2 separate regions of the Homo sapiens genome follow, and region 2 is linked to region 1. The links are contacts of gene promoters, found by promoter capture Hi-C in blood cells and fetal thymus (Javierre and others, 2016). All regions are on one chromosome and are shown on one strand. Each heading gives the region's core, a stretch centred on a gene start or on the middle of the fragment in contact. The rest is flanking DNA. Distances are from core to core; before and after follow the strand shown.

Evidence for each region. Contacts are between HindIII fragments. The CHiCAGO score rates a contact against its expected background, and 5 or more counts as called.
Region 2: a contact is called between the fragment with the promoter of MRPS21 here and a fragment that was not itself captured in region 1, in 2 of 17 cell types (M1 macrophages and M2 macrophages). The highest score is 5.7, in M1 macrophages.

What each region holds. Positions count from the first base shown.
Region 1 is chr1:150,455,417-150,462,922 of GRCh38, reverse strand. RPRD2 (regulation of nuclear pre-mRNA domain containing 2) reads right to left here. Exons shown (of 11, transcript NM_015203.5): 8 at 5,353-5,635; 9 at 2,606-2,863. Among named protein-coding and RNA genes, the nearest start is that of TARS2, 28 kb to the left of the region's middle. The HindIII fragment of the contact is 5,293 bases long and covers 1-4,796 here.
Region 2 is chr1:150,291,155-150,297,747 of GRCh38, reverse strand. MRPS21 (mitochondrial ribosomal protein S21) reads right to left here and starts at 3,887. Exons shown (of 3, transcript NM_031901.6): 1 at 3,850-3,887; 2 at 3,299-3,413. The coding sequence starts at 3,381. It overlaps LOC105371434 (a long non-coding RNA gene), which reads left to right and starts at 3,928. Exons shown (of 2, transcript XR_922129.4): 1 at 3,928-4,116; 2 at 4,251-4,448. RefSeq lists enhancers at 149-706, 3,540-3,599. The HindIII fragment of the contact is 15,404 bases long and covers 1,937-6,593 here.

The sequences.
Region 1 (7,506 bases), core at 901-3,400:
ATGACTGCACCCCTGCACTCCAGCCTGGGTGATGGAGTGGGACCTTGTCTCAAAATAAATAAATAAATGGCCGGATGCGGTGGCTCACGCCTGTAATCCCAGCACTTTGGGAGGCCAACGCGAGCAGATCACGAGGTCAGGAGATCGAGACCATCCTGGCTAACATGGTAAAAGCCCGTCTCTACCAAAAATACAAAAAATTAGCTGGGCGTGGTGGCAGGCACCTGTAGTCCCAGCTACTCAGGAGGCTGAGGCAGGAGAATGGCGTGACCTGGGAGGCGGAGCTTGCAGTGAGCTGAGATCGCGCCACTGCACTCCAGCAGCCTGGGGGACAGAGTGAGACTGTCTCAAAATAAATAAATAAATAAATAAAAATAAAATTCCATTAAAAAGGTTTTATATACTTAACCCTTGCAAAGGGTTATTCATAAAATTTTTATAATTTACAGGTTTTTTTTTTGTTTTTTGTTTTTTTTTGAGACAAGAGTCTCGCTCTGTCAACCAGGCTGGAGTGCAGTGGCTTGATCCTGGATCACTGCAACCTCTGCCTTCTGGGTTCAAATGATACTTATGCCTCAGCCTTATGAGTAGCTGGGATTACAGGTACGTGCCACCACAGCTGGCGAATTTTTTCTTTTTTTGAGACGGAGTCTTGCTCTGTTGCCCAGGCTGAAGTGCAGTGGCGTGATCTTGGCTCACTGCAACCCCCGCCTCCCAGGTTCAAGTGATTGTCCTGCCTCAGCCTCCCAAGTAGCTGGGACTACAGATGCATGCCACCATGCCCAGCTAATTTTTGTATTTTTAGTAGACAGGGTTTCACCAAGTTGGCCAGGCTGGTCTTGAACTCCTGACTTCAGGTGATCCGCCTGCCTTGGCCTCCCAAAGTGCTGGAAATACAGGCGTGAGCCACCAAACCTGGCCTAATTTTTGTTTTTTGTTTTTTTTTGAGACGGAGTATTGCTCTGTCGCCCAGGCTGTGCAGTGGCGCGATCCTGGCTCACTGCAAGCTCCGCCTCCTGGGTTCAGGCCATTCTCCTGCCTTAGCCTCCCGAGCAGCTGGGACTACAGGCGCCCGCCACCATGCCTGGCTATTTTTTTGTATTTTTAGTAGAGACGGGGTTTTACCATGTTGGCCAGGATGGTCTCGATCTCTTGACCTCGTGATCCACCCGCCTCGGCCTCCCAAAGTGCTGGGATTACAGGTGTGAGCCACCACGCTCGGCCATAATTTTTGTTTTTTTAAGTAGAGATGGGGTTTCGCCATGTTGTCCAGGTTTGTCTCCAACTCCTGGCCTCAAGTGATCAACCTGCCTCCACCTCCCAAAGTGGTGGCGTGAGCCACCACACCTGGCCCTATAGTATTCTTCATAACAGTAAAAAACTGGAAACATACTAAGTGCCTAATAATAAAGGATTAGATAAGTTACCACATGCTATGCAGCTATTAAAAATGATGTAGAGAAATATTTAATGATTCATAAAAACATTCAAGATATGTAATTAACTTTTAAATAGCTAGTTTTGAAACAGTATATGCAATACACTTACTTTTTTAAAAATTGTTATACATATTTAATTCTCCAAAACATTCATATACACATATACTTTTAAGGGTAAACACAAGTGGTTTCCTTTGGGGTAACAGGATTATAGATATTTATTAAAAAATTTTTTTCATTTAAAATTTTTTATTTAGAGATAGGGTCTCACTATATTGCCAAGGCTGGTCTCGAACTCCTGGCCTCAGGCAATCTACCATCTCAGCCTCCCAAAGTGCTGGGATTACAGGCATGAGCCACCACGCCTGGCCTAGATATTTATTTCATTCTCTTTGCTTATTTTCTAATTTTTCTATAATGACCGATTATTGGATTATTTTTTAATTTAACAATTAATTTAGCTGGGTGCGCTGGCTCACGCCTGTAATCCCAGCACTTTGGGAGGCCAAGATGGGTGGATCACCTGAGGTCAGGAGTTTGAGACCAGCCTGACCAACATGGTGAAACCCCGTCTCTACCAAAAATACAAAATTAGCTGGGCATGGTGGCACATGCCTGTAGTCCCAGCTATTTGGGAGGCTAAGGCAGAATTGCTTGAACCTGGGAGATGGAGGCTGCAGTGAGTGAAGTTTGCACCATTGCACTCCAGCCTAGGTAACATGACTGAAACTCCGTCTCAGAAAAAAAAAAAAAAATCATTAATTAAAAAAAATCAACAACAGACTGGGCACGGTGACTCACGCCTATAATCCCAGCACTTTGGGAGGCCGAGGTGGGTGTATCACCTGAGGTCAGAAGTTCAAGACCAGCCTGGCCAACATGGTGAAACCCCATCTCTACTAAAAATACAAAAATTAGCCGGGCGTGGTAGCAGGTGCCTGTAATCCCAGCTACTTGGGAGGCTGAAGCAGCAGAACACTTGAACCCGGGAGGCAGAGGTTGCAGTGAGCCAAGATTGCACCACTGCACTCCTGCCTGGGAGACAGAGCGAAACTCTGTCTAAACAACAACAACAACAACAACAACAACCCCCCCAAAAACAGATTAATGATTCAATTTAAAAAGATGGAAATTAACTTTTTATCCTCCTTACTGGGCTTACTTACCAGTATTTTTCATGACTGATGTTAAACTGCTAAGGATGGAACTGATCTTTGCCAGATCCACATTAGCCAGGTTTGGCAAAGCCAATGCTGGGGAAGGGGAAAGAGAAGTATTCACAGGCTTTGGAAGAGGTGGAGTTGCTGTCATGGTCACAGGCACTGGGGTACATGAAGAGGCCTTTGAGATATTTTCTGTTGGCTTTGTAGGTACAGAAGTGGATACAGCTGACTTCTCTGCAGGTTTTTCCTTCCTGTCCTCGACTGTTTCAACAAAGAAAAGAGATATTACATCCTACTACTTTCCAGACTTTGCTTCCTATATGAAATAACATGTCCTAATATTTCCGGACTTGGGGGAAAAGGCACTACTTTAGAGAAAACAACGACTCACTTCATGCTTTTTTGAAAAAGTCATACTCTTCATAATTTATGATAATTCCCACCTTTAATATCTGCTTAAAAGCAATTTCCAGCTGGGGACAATGGCTCATGTGAGGTCAGGATTTCGAGACCAGCCTGGTCAACATGGTGAAATCCTGCCTCCACAAAAAATACAAAAAATTAGCTAGGTGTGGTGGCAGGCGTCTATAATCCCAGCTACTACAGAGGCTGAGACACGAGAATCGCTTGAACCCAGGAGGCAGAGGTTGCAATGAGCCGAGATTGTGCCACTGCATTCCAGCCTGGGCAACAAAGCGAGACTCCCGTCTCAAAAAAAAAAAAAAAAGCAAGCAATTTCCAGAATTTATCTTGTATCTTACTTTTCAATGATTCCTTTGCATTTTCTTAGTATTTGTGTATTAAATCTGTACAATTCAAGAAGCATGTTATTATTTGGTACACATTTGTGTTCTGTCTTTTGGAAATGATATTTTTCATAAATTGTCCTGTGTTTTTCTTTTCCATTAACCTGAGAACTTTCTAAGAACTTCTGTTCTTAGAAACAGAACCTCTATAGTGTTCATTGTATTTTCCTCTGGCTTCCTGAAATTGCCCTATTGGGGGGTGCAATCAGGCACTAGCTAATTTGAAACTACAATGTTTTAACTCTCAATCACCTTGAATAATTATTTTTAATGCTTTAAGGGCTGTATCAATAGTGCATTGAATTCAACAGGAGTCAAACTATCTAATAAGATTTATGAAGGCTGGGGATATAAGAGAAACAATTCACCAAATCAGGTTATTTCTGAAAGTGTGATTAACAAACTGACTTTGGAATTCTTGATGGTCAAAAGTGACAGAGAATAAGGAATTCCAGTATAAGTGACCCCTCATCCCAAAACAGTGCTATTTAACATGAATACAATTTAAGCCACATATGCCACATATGTAAGTTTAAATTTTCTAGCAGCCAAATTAACAAAAAAAGAATCAGGGCCGGGCATGGTGGCTCAAGCCCACCTCCCAGCACTTTGAGAGGCCGAGGCAGGCGGATCACTTGAGGTCAGGAGTTCGAGACCAGCCTGCCCAACATGGTGAAACTCCGTCTCTAATAAACATACAAAAAATAGCCGGGTGTGGTGGTATGCACCTACAATCAATCCTAGCTACTCGGGAGGCTGAGGCAGGAGAATTGTTTGAACGCAGGAGATGGAGGATGCAGTGAGCCAAGATTGCGCAACTGCACTCCAGCCTGGGCGACAGAGGGAAACTCTCTTTTTCTCTCAAAAACAAACAAATAAAAAGAAACAGACACATGTAATTTAAAAATTCTATTTTATTCATCCTAATATATCCCAAATATTTTCATTTCAGTGTTATAAATAAAAAATTATTAATGAGATATTTTAACTCTTTGGGAGAGTTTCTGCCACCATGCTCGGCCTAGTTTCTGGACTCCAATGTGTCTGGTTTTTTTTTTTTGGAGAGAGGGTCTCCCTCTGTCATCTAGGCTGGAGTGCAGTGACATGGTCTTGGCTCACTGCAACCTCCGCCTCCCAGGCTCAAGTGATTCTCCTGCCTCAGCCTTTCCAGCAGCTGGGGCTACAGACGCATGCCACCACGCTGACTAATTTTTATATTTTTTGTAGAGACAGGGTTTCACTATGTTGCCCAGGCTGGTCTCAAAGTCCTGGGCTCAAGCAATCTGCCCGCCTCAGCCTCACAAAGTGCTGAGATTACAGGCATGAGCCACTGCACCTGGCCTCAATGTGTATTTTATACTTATAGCACATCTCAAGTTGGACAAGCTTCATTTCAAATGCTTAGCCACAGGTAGCTAGTAGCTACTTTCCCCCGACCGTCCCCCCAAGACGGAGTCTCGCTCTGTCTCCCAGACTGGAGTGCAGTGGCATAATCTCAGCTCACTGCAACCCCTCTCTCAGGTTCAAGCGATTCTCTTGCCTCAGCCTCCCGGGTAGCTGGAATTACAGGTACCTGCCACCATACCCGGATAAGTTTTGTATTTTTAGTAGAGACAGGGTTACACCATGTTGGCTAGGGTGGTCTCGAACTCCTGACCTCAGGTGATCCACCTGCCTTGGCCTCCCAAAGTGCTGGGATTACAGGCATGAGCCACCGCCCATGGCCTAGTAGCTAGCATTTTAACAGTGCAGATACTGAGCAATGATTCTTAACACATTTGGCATATCAAATCCTCAACAACTGCTCTAGAGATTATAATGCTACCTTGGTGTTCTATCTTTTAAGAAATGAACTATCTTTCAATACCTGCCTGTGATGTATTCATTGCTGAGAAGGCAAAACAGATAAGGAATAAGTTGTCTATTAATCACATAAAGACATACCAATGATTTTTGACCCATCATCTTCCACATCTGAGAGTTCCATGTCTTCCACATCACGATTATCTGTCACAGGTTCAGGTGTGGCAGATTTCTCACTCTCCATGGTTGGTGACTGGGATTCCTCACCTCCCATTCCCTGAAAAGGAGACTCAGAACCAGTCGGGGAGGGAGCGTCCATGCTTGGGGAAGGAACTGGTGATTCTTCAGGATCTGGAAGGGTTGACTTCAATTGATCCAACTTCTTCTTTAAATTGTTTACTCGGTTAGCAAAGGTTTTATATGCCTAAAAGAGAAAAAAGGAGTTTACTCCTTGGAAAAAGACCAGAAAGTTAACATTTTTTCTTTTTGAGGCAGAGTCTCACTTTGTCACCCAGGCTAGAGTGTAGTGGCACAATCTTGGTTCACTGCAACCTCTGCCTCCTGGGTTGAAGTGATCCTTCTACCTCAGCCTTCCAAGTAGCTGGATCCACAGGAACACATCACCATGCCTGGCTAATTTTTGTATTTTTAATAGAGATGGGGTTTCACCATGTTGGCCACGCTGGTCTCGAACTCCTGGCCTCAAGTGATCCACACGCCTCAGCCTCCCAAAGTGCTGGGATTATAGGCATGAGCCACCAAACCCAGCCTCTTCTTTTTTTTTTTGAGAAGGAATTTCGCTCTTGTTGCCCAGGCTGCAGTGCAGTGGCATGATCATAGCTCACTGCAACCTCTGCCTCCTGGGTTCAAGTGATTCTCCTGCCTCGGCCTCCCAAGTAGCTGGAATTATAGGCGTGCACCACCACACCCGGCTAATTTTTGAATTTTTAGTAGAGACGGGGTTTCACCATGTTGGCCAGGCTGGTCTTGAACTCCTGATGTCAGGTAATCCATGCACCTCGGCCTCCCAAAGTGCTGGGATTACAGGCTTGAGTCACCGTGCTCGGCTGCTTTTTTTTTTTTTAAATAAAATTTTATTCTCTTAAATGAGAGATGAGGTCCTGCTATGTTATCCAGGCTAGTCTTGAACTCCTCGGCTCAAGTGATCCTCCCACCTCAGCCTCCCAAAATGCTAGGATTGCAGGCATACACCATCATCCCTGGCGACCCATTTTGACTCTGATTAGATTTTCTATTATTAATCACGTACATTGCTGGCACAAAACAAGATAATATATCATCTGTCAAGCATGCAGTAGTTTCTAGTTTCTGCTTTTTATACTCCCTAAGTGAATATTACCATCCACACAGTTGCCTGAGTTAGAAACCTAGCAGTTATCTGTAATTTATATTCCCTTGCTCCTGTTTATCTATCCAACCAACCAATATTTATTGAGAGCCTAAATGTATCTTCTAGGTACTGGAGATACAGCAAGAAATGAGACAGACAAGAAAAAAAAAATCAAATCCAAAAATAAAGCAAAGCCTGGGAGGTCAGATGCTATTGTTTTAAAAAACAGGGGCTGGGCCTGGTGGTTCATGTCTGTAATCTCAGCACTTTGGGAGGCTGAGGCAAGGAGGATCACTTGAAGCCAGGAGTTCAAGACCAGCCTGGGCAACATAGGGAGATACTGTCTCTACAAAAAAATAAAAAAAAATTAGCTGGGCATAGTAGCATGCGCCTGTAGTCCCAGCTGCCTGTAGTGCCAGCTACTTAGGGGGCTGAGGTGGGAGGACTGCTTGAGCCCAGGTCAGGGCTGCAGTGAGCAGTGATCACACCACTGCACTCCAGCTTGGGTGACAAAGCGAGACCCTATCTCAAAACAAAAATAGTTTGTTGTAAAAGAAGTTTTAGGTGTTAGAAAATCATTGCAAAGATAGTTCCCATATACCCTATATCCAATTTTTCCTATTACTAACATCTTATATCAGTATGATACATTTGTCACATTAATGAATCAATATTCATAATTATTAACAAAAGTCCATACTTTAGATTTCCTCAGGTTTTTTTTTTTTTTTACCTAATGTCCTTTTCTAACCTAGGATCCCATCCAAGATACCACAGAACATTTAGTAGTCATGTCTTCTTTCTCCTTAGACTCCTCTTGTTTGTGACACTTTGCTGGACTTTCTTTCTTTTTTTTTTTGAGATGGAGTCTCGCTGTGTCGCCCAGGCTGGAGTGCAGTGGTATGGTCTTGGCTCACTGCAACCTCTGCCTCCTGGGTTCAAGT
Region 2 (6,593 bases), core at 2,638-5,137, 170 kb after region 1:
GGAACAGCTTCAGCCCAAGGATATAATTGTTATGCACATAGAATTAAGTGATGTGGCTGACCCCAGACCAGATTTTTTTTTTTGAGTCTTACTCTGTGGCCCAGACTGGAATGCAGTGGCACGATTCTGGCTCACTGCAGCCTCTATTTCCCAGGTTCAAGTGATTCTCCTGCCTCAGCCTCCCAAGTAGCTGAGATTACAGGCGCCTGCCACCACATATGGCTAATTTTGTATTTTTAGTAGAGACAGGGTTTCGCTATGTTGGCCAGGCTGGTATTGAACTCCTGACCTCAGGTGATCCACCCGCCTGAACCTCCCAAAGTGCTGGGATTACAGGCATGAGCCACCACGCCTGACCCTAAGACCAGATCCTTTTAAAAGACATAGAAACCATTCTGAGCCTGCAACTGCTTCTCATTTACACAGCTTCTGACAGCATTTTTTCTTTTTTTTTTTGTAGACAGAGTCTCGCTCTGTTGCCCAGGCTGGAGTGTAGTGGCACGCTCTCGGCTCACTGCAACCTCCTCCTCCCGGGTTCAAGCGATTCTCCTGTCTCAGCCTCCTCAGTAGCTGGGACTACAGGTGTGTGCCACCACGCCCGGCTAATCTTTTGTATTTTTAGTAGAGACGGGGTTTCACCGTGTTAGCCAGGATGGTCTCGATGTCCTGACCTCGTGATCCGCCCGCCTTGGCCTCCCAAAGTGCTGGGATTACAGGCGTGAGCCACCGCGCCCGGCTGACAGCATTTTTTTCCTCACTGTGGTCTTCTGCCATCCAGCCTTCCACACCTAGAACTCTCTGCTTTGCTAAGAACTAGGTTCCCTTTCCTTTGCCCTCTCAGTCCTCAAGAACCCTACCAATATTTAAACCCAATCAGATGAGGATTCTGGTTTTTTTTTTAAAGCGACACCTGCTGAAATGACAAGACAAGGATTCTAAATTGGAAAATGAACCACCATAAGTCTTTCCATTTCTAGTAAGACTAGTAATAATTATTAAAGAACATTGCACTAAAAAGATGTGCTTTAGGCTCCTCTCCACCATTCAATAACTGCATAACCCAATAAAGATAATCTGATCTTCCAAGGCTTCCCTTACTTGTGAAATAAAGCTACCACATTAAAGGCCTTAATGCAGCCCATGCAATATCTTTCCTACATTTTTTTTAAGAGACATGGTCTCACTATGCTTCCTAGGTTAGAGTGGAGTGGTTATTCACAGGCACAACAAGAGTGCACTCACACTACAGTCTTGAACTCCTGGGTTCAAGCAATCCTCTTGCCTCAGCCTCTGGAGCAGCTAGCACTACAGGAGCCCCTTCCTTACAATTCTTTGATAATTCAACTCAACAAGCGTTTGTTTCTCCAAATGTTACTTCACATTGGGGAAAGAAAATGACGCGTGAGTCATACCAGAAAGTCAAAATCCACACAACTGGTGAGAAGGGAAGGTTAAGAACTTTTTGCTTGAGAATTCAGTGGTAAAGTACTACTAGGGCTGGGCCGGATGCAGTGGCTCATGCCTGTAATCCCAGCACTTTGGGAGGCCAAGGCGGGTGGATCACGAGGTCAAGAGATTGAGACCATCTTGGCTAACGTGGTGAAACCCTCTCTACTAAAAATACAAAAATCAGCCAGGCGTGGTGGTGGGCACCTGTAGTCCCAGCTACTCAGGAGACTGAGGCAGAAGAGTCAATTGAACCCAGGAGGCGGAGGCTGCAGTGAGCCGAGACTGCACCACTGCGCTCCAGCCTGGCAACAGAGCAAGACTCCGTTTTAAAAAAAAAAAAAAAAAAGTATTACTAGGGCTCTTCTACATCTCTTAGCCTGGCATTCAAAAATTTTCAATGAAGCTATAAAGCTCCTCCACCCCAGCTAGTTTGTTTCCATTTATGTATTTTTCCTTATGCTGTATCTTTCCTGAAAACTTGTAAGCTTTCCCATCTTTCTTTTTTTCCCTTTCTTCTTAATATTTTTAGAAATGGGGTCTTGCTATGTTTACCAGATTGGTCTTGAACTCTTGGCAACAAGCAATCCTCCCCACTAGGCTTCCCAAAGTGCTAGGATTACAGGTGTGAGTCATCCCACCCAGTGAGCTTTCCCATCTTTTGCCTGCTTCTCTAGGATGCCAATCTGAATTCACCTTTTCCTTTAGCTTTGTCCCACACCAATCACTCCCTCAGCTTTCTATTTATCATACTACGTTCCCGCTTCCTAGCAACTTCACATCTTGATTTTCCATTTGGGCTCTTTTTTAAGTCTTCTAAAGAATTCAGGTTCCTCATAAAAGGAGTCATTACGCTTGGGCAACATGGCGAGACTCCCTCTGTACAGAAAATACAAAAATTAACTGCGGTGGTGGCGTGCGTCACTAGACCCAGCTAGTCAGGAGACTGAGGCAGGAGGATTGTTGAGTGACACAGCAAGACCCTGTCTCAATTTTTAAAAAGCGGGGCCGGGCGCTGTGGCTTACGCCTGTAATCCTAGCACTTTGGGAGGCAGAGGCAGGCAGATCACTTGAGGTCAGGAGATCAAGACCATCCTGGCCAACACGGTGAAACCCCATCTCTACTATAAATACAAAAATTAACCGGGCGTGGTGGCGGGAGCCTGTAGTACTGGCTGCTCAGGAGGCTGAGGCAGGAGAATGGCGTGAACCCAGGAAGCGGAGCTTGCAGTGAGCCGAGATCGTGCCGCTGCACTCCAGCCTGGGTGACAGAGCGAGACTCTGCCTCAAAAAAAAAAAAAAAAATTAAAATTAAAATTAAAAGCGGGGAGGTGCGGGGGGTGATTACTTGTTGAATACAATTCATACAGTTAGGTTTGAGGAAGAACTTTTTTTCTTTTTTTTTGAGATAGAGTCTCACTCTTGCCCAGGCTGGAGTGCAAGTGGCTCGATCTTGGCTCACTACAACCTCTGCCTCCCGGGTTCAAGCGATTCTCCTGCCTCAGCTCTCGAGTAGCTGAGATTACAGGCGTTTGCCACCACGCCCGGCTAATTTTTGTATTTTTAGTAGAGACACGGTTTCACCATGTTGGCCAGGCTGGTCTGAAACTCCTGACCGCATGTGATCCACCCGCCTCGGCCTCCCAAAGTGCTGGGATTACAGGCGTGAGCCACCGCGCCCGGCCCAGAACTTCATTTTTAAGATAATAAACTGAGGGGCTGAGACGTTTTAAGAGACTGTGAACACCTGGGCTGGCACTGTTTTGAGAACAATCAACGAAAGGGGAAGGGAGAGAATAACCACCGCACTTCCCAGAGAGTCTAGGCATGATTCTGGTCCCTTAACAGTTACCTGTTTAGGGTCCTGTATGCGCTTTCCACGTTCCCTTCCTGTACCATCACAGTCCTGGCGATGAACTTCAGATGTTTTGCCATGACCTTGGATTTAAACCTTCACTCTGTAGAGCCTAAAGGATGATGGAGAAAGGGCGAGGAAAGCAGAAAGAGAAACGCAACATAATACAAACTACACCGCGCGGCTTATTTAGGATTTGGAAATTCAACATGCTCAGGGACGCGCGAGATGGAGCACATGGAAGTCATCCTAGAAAGTAGACGTGAATCGTTGTCTCTTATTCTCACTGCCAGTCCAAATCCTCGCATAGAGAAGAAAAGAGATGGCAGCAGGGCGTTACCACAAAGACGCGTCGCCGGGCATGAGAAGGACACGAGCGACAAGGATGCGCCACAGGGTCCCAACCACCACACATAGTTCCAAAAGGGGTTGAGTTGGGAGTTGGGGAAGGACTCTTTGTTGGTCTTTGGAAAAGGGGGCGAAAGCCCGCAAACCTGCCCTCTCGCCAAGCCAGCCTTCCTTTCCCCAAACCCTGCACAACTCCTCACCTCGCGCGCTCAGTACCTAGCCCACCGGAAGGGTTCTCACTACCGGAAGCGGAAATTACGGAATCGCCAGCGCCGCGCAAAGAAACAGGCCGAGGGAGACAACGTGCGTGGAAACCATAGCAACGTCCTTTCTGGCCTCTGTTGACTGCCTCTCTTCCCCGGGCCTGGACTCTACACCTGACAAAGCAAAATACTCATTGACTTAAATTCCCCCGAAACACGTTTCTCGCCCTCTCATGGAGTCGAAGTCCTTCGGCCTCTGAGAAGGTCAGCCCAATTTCATACCCCTTAATCCTGTGAAATCCTTGATAAATATTTGAGCCATTTCTCTTTCTCGATGGAAAACAAGAGAAGTAGGCGCTTCCTGAGGATGCTTCCTGTTTTCTCTTTGGAAAGGACAGACTCTTTGAGATCTGCTCTCCGGACGAAAAATAGATTGATTCATACACGTCATCTGCCTAAGTGCTAAGGAAAAGAAATAAACATACTGTGAGTTTCCTATATCATCTTCCCACTAATTTAACTACATAAAGTGAAATCAATAAAGATATATGGGAAACACCTGCAGGGTTTAGAATAAAAAATTATGTCAGCTTCTATGCCTTTTCGTGCTAATGAGACCTACTGAAAAACCTCCTTTTAAATTTCTTCTTCGCTGTGGAGACACCCGTCCTCCTATTTGTATGCTACCTGTACATATCCATTTATGGTTATTCACGTAAGTTAACATCTAATGGCTGTAGGAAAACGTACCTCCCTTAGAGAGAGAGTGCGCGCGCACGCTCACGCACACACACACACACACAGACACAGACACAGACGTGTGCATCATCAGTTGATGCTAATAACTTACACTAACACTTAAGCCCACCTCAGAGTAAGCCAGGTCCAAAGTAACGAAATAGAACTAGATTGGGACATTATTATGCTTGTCAACAAACTTTCACTGAATGACTACTCTGTGTCAGATACTGTTGATACCACTCTAGTGCCTCCTGGACCACTAGGACCACATAAAAGATACTAAAACAAAGTAGTATATAATAAATGCAAAATAAATTATATGGGCTGGACGCGGTGGCTCACACCTGTAATCCCAGCACTTTGGGAGGCCAAGGCAGGCGGATCACTTGAGCCCAGAAGTTCGAGACCAGCCTGGGCAACAAAGCAAAACTCCGTCTTTACAAAAAATATAGAAATTAGCCGGGTGTAGTGGCATGGCCTGTTGTCCTAGCTACTTGGGAGGCTGAGGGGGAGGATCACCTGAGCCTGGAAGGTCAAGGCTGCAGCGAGCTTTGATCACACCACTGCACCCTGGCCTGGGCAATAGAGTGAGACCCTGTCTCAAAAAATTAAAAATGAATAAATAAATAAATAGGGCCAGGCGCGGTGGCGCACGCCTGTAATCCCAGCACTTTGGGAGGCTGAGGCGGGTAGATCACCTGAGGTCAGGAGTTTGAGACCAGCCTGGCCAACATGGTGAAACCCTGTCTCTACTAAAAATACAAAATTAGCCAGGCGTGGTGCCACATGCCTGTAATCCCAGCTGCTTGGGAGGCTGAGGCAGGAGAATCACATGAACCTGGGAGGCGGAGGTGGCAGTGAGCCGAGATCGCACCATTGCACTCCAGCCTGGGCAACAAGAGTGAAACTCCATTTCAAAAAATAAATAAACAAACAAATAATAAATAAAATATGCCACAGCATAATGTGGTGAAAGGCACTGGCTTCAAAGTTGGGAGATCTGGATTCTATCCCAATTCTAATACTCATCAGGCCTATGACCTTGAAGAAGTCATTTAAAACCAGGGGTCTGGAGACTACAGTTTACAGGTCAAATCCTGCTCCACCTGTTTTTGTAAATAAGGCTGTTGACCTACAGTCATGCTTATTTGACTGTGTGTTATGTATGGCTGCTTTGGGCTACGATGGCCGAATTGGGTAGTTGCAATAGAGACATAAAGCCTACAAAGCCTAAAATATTTACTATCTGGCCCTTGCCAGACTCACTCTATTTCCTCATCTCTAAAATGGGACTAATTTTGCCCTGTTCAGTCTCACGAAATTTGTCATGGGAATCAAATAGAATAAAATATGAAGATATGCCGGGCACGGTGGCTCACGCCTGTAATCCCAGCACTTTGGGAGGCTGAGGCGGGTGGATCACGAGGTCAGGAGATCGAGACCATCCTGGCTAACACAGTGAAACCCCGTCTCTACTAAAAATACAAAAGATCAGCTGGGCGTGGCGGCGCTCGCCTGTAGTCTCAGCTACTTGGGAGGCTGAGGCAAGAGAATCACTTGAACCCTGGAGGTGGAGGTTGCAGTGAGCTGAGATGGTGCCACTGCACTCCAGCCTGGGTGACAGAGCGAGACTCTGTCTCCAAAAAAAAAAAAAAAAAAAAGAGAAAAAAAATATGAAGATACTTTGAAAGAAAGGAAGGGAGACAGGAACTGATGTTAATAAGTTCTGTTAACCACTACCATTGGATCAGCTGGAGAGTAACATTTTTGAGAGCCTACTATATACTAAACCCTGTACTAGGTGGGTGTTTTTTATTTTTGTTTTTGTTTTTCTGAAACAGAGTCTCACTCTTGTTGCCCAGGCTAGAATGCAGTGGCACCATCATAGCTCACTGTAGCCTGGACCTCCTGAGCTCAGGTGATCCTTCCACCTCAGCCTCCCGAGTAGCTGGGATTACAGGGACATGCCACTACGCCTAGCTAATTTTTTGTATTTTTAG